Regions from separate parts of the Homo sapiens genome. Here regions 2 and 3 are each linked to region 1. Evidence: promoter capture Hi-C in human tissues and cell types (Jung and others, 2019). All regions are on one chromosome and are shown on one strand. Each heading gives the region's core, a stretch centred on a gene start or on the middle of the fragment in contact. The rest is flanking DNA. Distances are from core to core; before and after follow the strand shown. Region 1 holds the start of RAF1 (Raf-1 proto-oncogene, serine/threonine kinase). Region 2 overlaps IQSEC1 (IQ motif and Sec7 domain ArfGEF 1). Region 3 overlaps SYN2 (synapsin II).

Region 1 (3,315 bases), core at 670-3,169:
GCGCTATCTCGGCTCACTGCAACCTCTGCCTACTGGGTTCAAGTGATTCTCCTGCCTCAGCCTCCTGAGTAGCTGGGATTACAGACGCGCACCACCACACCTGGCCAATTTTTTTTTTTTTTTTTTTAGGCGGAGTCTCACTCTGTTGTCCAGGCTGGAGTGCAGTGGCGCGATCTCAGCTCACTGCAAGCTCCGCCTCCCGGGTTCATGCCATTCTCCTGCCTCAGCCTCCTGAGTAGCTGGGACTACAGGGGCCCGCCACCACACCCGGCTAATCTTTTGTATTTTTAGTAGAGACGGGGTTTTACTGTGTTAGCCAGGATGGTCTCGATCTCCTGACTTCGTGATCTGCCCGCCTCGGCCTCCCAAAGTGCTGGGATTACATGTGTGAGCCACCGCACCCGGCCTATTTGTTTTGTATTTTTTAGCAGAGACAGGTTTCACCATGTTGGCCAGGCTGGTCTCAAACTCATGACCTCAAGTGATCTGCCCGCCTCGGCCTCCCAAAGTGCTGGGATTACAGGCGTGAGCCACCACGCCCAGCCATGTCTTTTTTTTTTTTTTTTTTGAGACAAGAGTTTCGCTCTTGTTGCCCAGGCTGGAGTGCAATGACGCGATTTCGGCTCACCGCAATCTCCGCCTCCTGGGTACAAGCAATTCTCCTGCCTTAGCCTCCCGAGTAGATGGGATGACAGGCATGCACCACCATGCCCAGCTAATTTGGTATTTTTATTTTTTTATATTTATTTATTTTTTCGAGACGGAGTCTCGCTCTGTCGCCCAGGCTGGAGTGTAATGGTGCGATCTGGGCTCACTGCAACCTCTGCCTCCCGGGTTCAAGCGATTCTCCTGTCTCAGCCTCCTGAGTAGCTGGGATTACAGGCGCCCGCCACCACGCCCGGCTAATTTTTGTATTTTTAGTAGAGACGGGGTTTCTCCATGTTGGTCAGGCTGGTCTCGAACTCCCGACCTCAGGTGATCCGCCTGCCTCGGCCTTCCAAAGTGCTGGGATTACAGGAGTAATCCCAAAAAAAGCGCCGGGCCCTTTTTTTGTTGTTTTTTAAATTCAGTAACTATCTAGTTCATTCTTGGATGGATGACAACCCAGATTGGATGTGTAGCAGCGTTCTCTTAACCAGTTTCCTATTAATCTTCATTTCATCCCCAGTGTTTCTCCAGAATGCAAATAATATGGCATTAAATATCTTCACACATAGCTTTTTGTGTATGTGTATACTTATTTCTCTAGAATTAGTGTCTAGAAGTGAAACTGCCGGGAGGAAGGATATATACTTTTAACATGTCCAAGTTCCACTGTGATAGCGCTGCGAGGGCACACAACAGGTTTCAATATACCTTGGACCAAACCGGATATTATCAGTTTTTTTAACTTGTTGCTAATGTGATGGGGGAAAAATGAACTCGGAATTTACACACAAGGAAAAGACCGTTTAAGGTTCAGGGACTGTCCACATAGCTGTCAAGTGGCGGAGCCGTGATTTGGTATTAAAGTGCCCGGAGAGGACGCGTCAAAGTTGGACACTGTGCCCTGTGTCCTGAGGCACGTCTGGTGATCGCTGGGCCTTGCAATGCTGGGCAGGCAGGCCTTCCTCTCCCCTTCTAGGCCTCTGGCCACTCCTGGCTGGCCGAAAGCCGGTTCTTCTCGATTACCGAGTGCCTCTCCTGAAAGCAAGTCAGCGTCGCCTAACCTCTTCAGCTTCGAAATGGCGGCCACCAGATCGCTAGGCCACGCCCCGGGGGCGGGGCCTGAGTTCAGGCCAGAGCGATGGATGCCCGAGCCAAGTTAGAAGTCGACTGCCAGTAGGGCTCGCGCAGAATCGGAGAGCCGGTGGCGTCGCAGGTCGGGAGGACGAGCACCGAGTCGAGGGCTCGCTCGTCTGGGCCGCCCGAGAGTCTTAATCGCGGGCGCTTGGGCCGCCATCTTAGATGGCGGGAGTAAGAGGAAAACGATTGTGAGGCGGGAACGGCTTTCTGCTGCCTTTTTTGGGCCCCGAAAAGGGTCAGCTGGCCGGGCTTTGGGGCGCGTGCCCTGAGGCGCGGAGCGCGTTTGCTACGATGCGGGGGCTGCTCGGGGCTCCGTCCCCTGGGCTGGGGACGCGCCGAATGTGACCGCCTCCCGCTCCCTCACCCGCCGCGGGGAGGAGGAGCGGGCGAGAAGCTGCCGCCGAACGACAGGACGTTGGGGCGGCCTGGCTCCCTCAGGTAGGTGGCAGGACCGGGTCGTGGATGCCGGGGGAGCCGGGCGGCGGGGCTGAGGGATCGGCTTCCAGGGCGACCGGGCCTGGGTGGCGCTGATGGAGCGGCCCCGCGGCTGCCGGGCAGAGGGCTTGGGCCAGGCCGTTGTCACCCTGGGGTAGCGTTGGGCGGGGGCCCCGGAGTCCGGTGTCATGGCCGGCGAGCCGAGTTCCCACATCCCACTCAAATTTCCTTGTGTTTGGCGGAAACGTGCCAACGCCACCCTTATGCCATGCGCATTCCTCATATTTGGCAGTGGGAAAATCCGCCCAGAGCTGCCCCATATCTGTTGTCACTTGGATGGGCCAATTCCTTTTCTCTTGGGCCGCCGAATGTGGGACCCGGGCTTGCACCCTTTCTCAGGGTACTTCAGTCAAGTGACACCCTTTTAGAGACGACGTGAGGAATCGGGTAAGAGAGGAGGAAACTGGCCAGTGCCCTACCACAAAGGCACAGGGGCCTCTTCTTGGGTATCAGGACTAGCCTTGGGTATCAGGACTCTGGGTTATTAATGAAAGGTTTGGGATACTTATAGAGGATTGGCCTCAGGACGCTTTGGAATGAAGAGCCAGGGCTGTCTTTTGTGTGACGCGAGAGCCGCCGGGACGCTTCAGCTCTGCAGCTGCTGAGGCTCTGCGAGCGAGTCGATGCCCAAGAGAGAGGGGTTTGGACGTCGTGAGAGGCGAGGCGGCCGTGTTCATTCATTGTTCTCGTTCTAGGGCTCTGGGTGTGCCCCTGGTATTCATTCTGTGGTGGGAAGAAGGAATGGAACTTAGTGTATCCTTGAGATGTGAACGGGTTCTAGGGGGTCACTTAATCTAAGTGGAAAATGAATTCAAGGCACGTTCATTGAGCGTTTCTGCTTGCCTGGTCCTCTGTGGGCTGAGTGGAGAGACTCTGCCCTCCCTGCGCTCCTAAGGCGTGAAAACAATGCAGTGTGATAAGAATTGGCTTATCAAGTGTTATGGGGATTTAGAACAGTTAGTTTTGCTTGGGGAGGAGTTGAGGAAGCTTCTACACTCGAGGAGACTTCTGAGTCGAGTTTTGAAACACCTGTGA
Region 2 (3,033 bases), core at 437-2,936, 330 kb before region 1:
CAGTGTCTACATCTCACTTCTGATCCGTCTGTGCCTTTCTGGATCCATTTGCCCATTCTCACCTGACCCAGATGTCCAGGGTCATGAGATGTCAGAGGTAAAAATCAGGGTCCCTCCTTCTGTCCTTTCCTCCCAGAAGTCCAGAGGGGGAAACGTCTTGCCCAAGGTCACACAGCCCCTCGTGGCAGGACCCACAGAGCCGGGTCTCCTGACTCATGACATCACTCGCTCAGCTTCTCTGGCTGGGCCCTGGCGGCCCCGTCCCTCCGGTCTCCGGTCTCGCCGCCTCCGGGCACCAGGGGGCGCCTCGTCCCAATCGCAGCCCGCCACCTGACGCCCTCGCTCCAGACCGGCGGGGTTCCGGCTGCGGGAGAGAGGCCGCCGCTCCCGGCCCGGCGTTCAGGGCTTCCGGGGCAGGTCTGCTCTGCGACCCACCAGGGAGGGCACTCGCGCGTCCTCGCTTTCTCCTTAGGTGCACCCCCGCGGGCGCGCTCCCGCCCATATCCCTTCCAGGCCCAGCCTCTGCTATCTGCGCCACTTCTTCCCCGTCTTTGGGCTCCCTTCCGATTGTGCCCACCCCATTCTCTGTAACAGTCGCCAGGCCACCAGGGCCCGTCCCAGCATCTAAATCGAGGTCGGCTGAGGGATGGGGGCGGCACCGGCAGGCCCAGGTCCCCACCCCGTCCCCAAACAGTCAGGAGGGTGTGTCCTGGAGGGGACGCGGAGGAGCGTGGTGCAGCTGTGCGCCTCTGGGCCAGTGGCTTCCCTGCTGTGGGCCTCAGTGTTCCCATCTGCGAACTGGGGACGGCGGCGGGGGTGGGGCGTTTCGGCCGGGGCTGCAGCTTTCCCTCGGAGGAGCCGGGGGACTTGGCCTGAGGTGCGTTTGTTCGCTGTTTATTGGGGGTCTGGGGTAGTCTGAGGGAAATGCCGGGGGTCGCAGTGCCCCCGGTTCCGCGCCTGGACCCCGCGTACCCCGCTCTCCTGACCCATCCGCTGCAGCGGCTGCACCGACCTGAGCGCCCTCCACTCGTCCAGGCTCGGGTGACGTCGGCGGCCGGGGCGGCACCGTCCTCCCCGCCCCCTAGCACAGCCGCGCACGCACACACACCTTCCGAGGGGGGAAACTGAGGCCAGGCGCGGCGAGGCCACCCGCCAAGGTCACGGCGCACGGGCGGTGGGGCGGGCAGGAGGGCGGCGCGCGGGGAGGCCGCCCCGCCGGTGGCGCTGGTATCGGGCTCGGGCTCCGGCTCCGGCTCCCGAGCGCCCGCCCCCGCCCCCCCGCGCCCGGCCACCGGACGCTCTGGGGCCGCGCCGGCCGCGGGGACGGCGCGCTCTCGGCGGCTGCGGGCGGACCCGCGAGGTAGGAGGCGGGCCGGCGGGGGACGCGCCCGGCGACCGGTGCGGTGCGGGGCCCCGGGCGGGGGTCGCTGGGGCTGCAGCCGGGAATGCCCTCCGCGGGGCGGCCTGGGCGGCAGCTCCGCCCCCGGGGCCGCGGTTGCACCGACACGCAGTTGGCTCTCGGGAACCTGGGGCGCGCGGGGATCGCGGCGGGCTTCGCGGAGCGGGTCTCGGAAGGAGGTTGCGAGGCCGCAGTTGCTAAGCCCGCACCGGCCGCAGGGTTGTGGGGTTGGGGATCAGCGGCCGCCAAGCTCACGGGAATGGGGGCCGGGGCGCGCCAGCGCCAGTCTTTCTGAGCTGGGCTCTGCGGTGTCGCTCTCTGGGACTGGAGCGGTGAGGACGCAGAAGCCCCAACCTCCGCGGCTATGCAGACGGCTTATCCCGAAGCCTTGCGAACGCTAAAGGCGCGATATTGGGGGTCGGGGAGGGGCGGGGTGCTCCATCTCTTCATCAGTGCAGTTGGTTGCCTCCCCGAAGCGGGGGTACGTGAATCCAGACCCCGAGGGTCGCCATGCAAAGCATTCCCCACCCCCCGACTCCGCACTACCCTGCTTCTCTTCCCCACCCCCACCCCGCCTCCACCACCGCTGCTGCCTCCGGGCGGAGAAATCCCGCCACCGCGTCCAGGGTCCCGAGCCTGCGAGCGGGAGGTTGAGGCATCTCAGGAATTCGCTGGGAGCCACACGGACGCGCCTTGGGAGGGAGGGAGAAGCTTTGGCAGGGCTGGAGGGCTGGGTCCAACCTGGCCCTGTCCCTGCCTCCCAACCCCGTGTGACCTTGGGCAGCCCCTCCTGCCATTACCACGTGGGGAAGAGACTGGTTCTCAGTCTTGGGGTGGAGGGAGCTCTCCCGGTAGACCTCCAGGAGAGTTGGCTTAGGGAGCAGTCTTGGGGACCAGAACAGCCTTGGCGACCTCTGGACCCTGACCCATAGGGGGCAGGTGGCAGCAGGGGGATGAGGTGTAATGGGGGCTGTTGTTGGAAACCTGTCCCACCTGCCAGCCTGAGGATGAGACACTCCTGGGCCAGGGTCTTAGAGTGTGGGACCCCCGCCCCCACCGCAACCTCCCGCTACAAAACCACCTGCCCTTGGGCTCTAAGCAGGCAGGGTGGGTTGGCAGAGGTGAGTCAAGCTTCTCCCCACCCCTAATAGTCCTGGGGAACTTCCCCTCCCATGTTTCTGCCAGGCAGTTGTCACTTTAAATTGCCAAGCTCTCAACTGTCACAGCTGATCTGTTCCTGGAGCAAAGGGAGCAGAAAGGTGACAGTGGGTGTCCCCTCCCCCTGGCCTTGTCCAGGAGATGAGGCTCACAAGGACAGCAGTCGGCTCTGCCTGGTCAGCTTTGTGAGTGTTGCTCTGAGCATGCCCAGTGATCTGTGGTGGTGAGGGACCTGTCCTAGACTGGGAGCAGGGGTCTGGTTGTGCACTTTGATGAGCCACCGTTTCATTTTGTGGTCAGGCTCCACCAGGCAGTGGACACATTGGCCTGTGCAGCCCCCTCTGAACAATTCTGAATTAAGGTGACACAGGAATAGCTTTCTCGTCACCCTCCCCTGCCCCCAGTATGATGCCCACCTCCTCATTACAGTTGGCAAGATGGCCAGGCTGCTGAAGCCATGTGCAATTAGAGCCCAG
Region 3 (3,159 bases), core at 119-2,618, 480 kb after region 1:
TCCTCCACTTTTCCCTCCTGGTATCTGAGTCACCATCTTCCCTGGACTAACTTTGGTCAGGCCTTTATCATTTCTTGCTAGAATAGTCTCCTAATTCTTTCATCTTTTTCTTTCCAATCTATCTTCTCTGGGGCTACCTATTAACCTCCTAAACCTTTTTTCTAGTTGTGTCTCTTAACTTCTCTAAATCACCTAGAGCTGACATTTATGGCGTGCTTACTGTGTTCCAAGTAACATGGATGCACTATTGTGCACTATCTCCCTGTACCTCACAGTACCGTATGAGGTATCATCAGCACTCCTGGTTGCTTCAGCATGGCTGGGCTTGCCCTTTCTAGCCTTCTCCCTCCTTTATGTCATAAACAGCTGCTCAGTCCAGGCCTGATCCTCTACTGTTCATTCTCTAGTCTGGCCCATGCCTTCAACACCACAGCCTCTCATGGTCAGAGACAGATACTTAGGTGAAGGACAGAAAAAGTCCCAGTTTGTGAAGCTACCGGACTGGCTCTCGCTGGTCTCTCCCCCAGGGCCTCATGCCCAGTACCACTGAAGGGTCCCAATGCATCATCTCAAATGTTGGCCAAGAGCAGCTTACGATGTTCTCCTCCCAGAGAATTGGTATTCCCAGAGAGGGTTACAGAAGACTATGTGGCATAAGAGCAGAACCAGGGCCAGTGGGCACAAAAGCTCTGGGCAGACTTTCACCTACAAGTAGAACTTTCTTTTGTAAAAATAGTGAGATAGGCTGTTTTGGGAGGTAGACGTATGTGTTCACATAGTGGGTAGTGAATGACCTGACAAAGACATCATAGATAATATTCCTTTTTTAAACATGAGATTGACTGGATGAATGCTAAGGTTCCTTCCAATCCAGTGAAACTATGATTCCAAGAAAACGTTTTAAATCCCATAGATTAAGCTTTAATGGTAGAACTCCAGACACAGGATGAGCTCACAGGGGTGATCACACCATGTAGGCTGGCCTTGTCTTTCCTCAGCCATAGGAATATACATGTAAGACACCCACGGATGAACTAAGCCCAGAAGTGCCCTTTTCCAGGCTTGAGAGGAAGAGCTCCCGGAGGCAGTCCTTTGGGCTGCAGCCTGGGAATATGCTTTGGCCACCCTTGATGGCGCCTAGGAAGCTTCTCTTGGCCCCGGCTCCACTGAGATTGTGTATGGAAGACTTCTCAGGGGCTACGGGAGGCGGGGAGGAGAATTCCCAAGGACTGTCCCTTGCCAGGCTGAGACACCCTGGCTCCACCTACAAGCCTGCTGTCTACTAGGGGCTCCGGGCCTATTCCCTGTGGGGCTTGGCTACCATGGGATCTGTTTCCAGTCACCCAGAGCATCCTGGGATGCCGAATTCCACAGAAGTCTGGCCACTCTGGCGTCACTGCCAAAGGCTGGCCTGGAGCCAGCCCACAGCAGGAACTCATGGCCAGACTGAGAGGCAGAGCTTTCCTCAGGAAGTTGGATTGATTCAAACAGGTAAGAATGTGAAGTGCAGTGCTTGTGCCTAGCTGTACACAAAACGGAAGGGGAATAAATGACCTTATAGTAGCATAAAAAAAAAAAAACCCAGCTGGGTGCGGCTCACGCCTGTAATCCCAACACTGTGGGAGGCCGAGGTGCGTGGATCACTTGAGCCCAGGAGTTTGAGACCAGCCTGGATAACATGATGAAACGCTGTCTCTACAAAAAATACAAAAATTAGGTGGGCATGGTGGCATGTGCTTATAGTCCCAGCTACCCAGAGGGCTGTGGCAAGAGGATAGCTTGAGCCTGGGAGGTGGATGCTGCAGTGAGCCAGGATCACGCCACTGCATTCCAGCCTAGGCAACAGAGTGAGACCCCGTCTCAAAAAAATATATAAATAAATAATAAACCCCAACCAACTTTGGGTTTACAGAGTGACGACAGGCTCAAAGGGTGTCAGTCTGTAATGATGCTGCCAAAAATTGGATGCAGCTGGAGGTATGTCTATGTCTTGACAAGGGGAAGTGATAGGACCACTGTTCTTTTGGCTGATCAAGCCTCATGAGAGAGCACTGCAACCAGTTCTGGCCACCTCTTAAGGGTGATGCTAGCAGAAAAACATGGGTACATGGAGCAAATAGGATGGTTAGAAGTCTCGAAATGACAACTTTACACATGTGACTTTGGGCAAGTTACTTATCCTGAGTCACAGTTTCCCAAATGGTATAAATGAGGTAACCATGGAAGCACCTAGGGCTTAGTAGAAGATTGAAATTAGTCAAATATAAATCTGAATAGTGTCAAGGGCTGGCTTGGGTAGTAGTGAGCTTCCTGGCATGAGAGGTATTTCAGCAGTGCTTGGACAAACTTTGGTTAGGGGGGCTCATGTAGCTGCAGGCACATGACTTCTACAGGCCCTTCTGGCTCTAGGCTTCCATGAATTCGTTTATGCTTTTTTTTTTTTTTTTTTTTTTTCTTTCAGTTCTTCCGGTGTGTGAGAACTGAGACAATCCCTTCTTAGCTACAGAGTTCCAGACCAGCCTGGACCAGCTACAGAGTCTTAAACTCAGCAAGACCCCTAGGGTTATTGGACCTGTGCAGAGATGTCTTGCAGGTATAGGCTTTCAGGAGCTTGGCAAGGAGAGTGTGCCGCTTCCATCAAAGCTAATTGGGCTGGTATCCTGCTACGCTGAATCTACTGGGCTTAGTGATCAGAGAAGCCAGGGAGGAAGGAGAGAGCTGGTGAAGCTCAAGACTCCTCCAGGTTGGTAGGTCCACCACTTGTTAAGGGAGGAATGCAAGGATTTTCCTTACGTAGAGATATAGAGTCACAAATGCCCAGCTCATTCCATTCTTACCTTCGCCTCTGCTGATGTGGGAGCACCAAAAGGGCATGGTGCACAGTATTGTGGAGAACTCCCTGAATTGGGGCCCAGAAGATCCAGCTCTCCTGCTTAGCAGCTGTGTGACCTTGGGCAAGGCAGTTGCCTTCTCTTTGCTGATATGTGAAACAAAGATACATTTGCCAGCCCAAGACATCTTAAATAAGGATTGTTAGGCTTAAACTAAAGAGTGTGCTTTGTAAACTGTAAAGTGTTAGGCAATGTAAGTGAGCATCCTACTACTATTTAAAAAATAAATATCAATCCAAAGGAAGGGAGGTCTAATGTTAGAATTTCG

What was found. The method cuts DNA at HindIII sites, captures the fragments that hold promoters and counts their contacts. A contact is called where the count stands out against the background at its distance.
Region 2: a contact is called between a fragment that was not itself captured here and the fragment with the promoter of RAF1 in region 1, in 1 of the 25 tissues and cell types used here (spleen).
Region 3: a contact is called between a fragment that was not itself captured here and the fragment with the promoter of RAF1 in region 1, in 1 of the 25 tissues and cell types used here (bladder).

The regions. Positions count from the first base shown.
Region 1 is chr3:12,662,721-12,666,035 of GRCh38, reverse strand. It overlaps RAF1 (Raf-1 proto-oncogene, serine/threonine kinase), which reads left to right and starts at 1,919. Exons shown (of 17, transcript NM_002880.4): 1 at 1,919-2,223. RefSeq lists enhancers at 1,544-1,613, 1,654-2,003, 1,615-2,226, 2,227-2,837 and a silencer at 2,194-2,413. The HindIII fragment of the contact is 15,309 bases long and covers 1-3,315 here.
Region 2 is chr3:12,992,408-12,995,440 of GRCh38, reverse strand. The region is part of intron 1 of IQSEC1 (IQ motif and Sec7 domain ArfGEF 1); the gene reads left to right. Among named protein-coding and RNA genes, the nearest start is that of IQSEC1, 80 kb to the left of the region's middle. RefSeq lists silencers at 192-461, 1,112-1,161, 1,182-1,341 and enhancers at 142-700, 752-821, 1,260-1,818. The HindIII fragment of the contact is 4,757 bases long and covers 1-3,033 here.
Region 3 is chr3:12,178,670-12,181,828 of GRCh38, reverse strand. The region is part of intron 10 of SYN2 (synapsin II); the gene reads right to left. Among named protein-coding and RNA genes, the nearest start is that of TIMP4, 21 kb to the right of the region's middle. RefSeq lists an enhancer at 2,479-3,159. The HindIII fragment of the contact is 3,004 bases long and covers 1-2,870 here.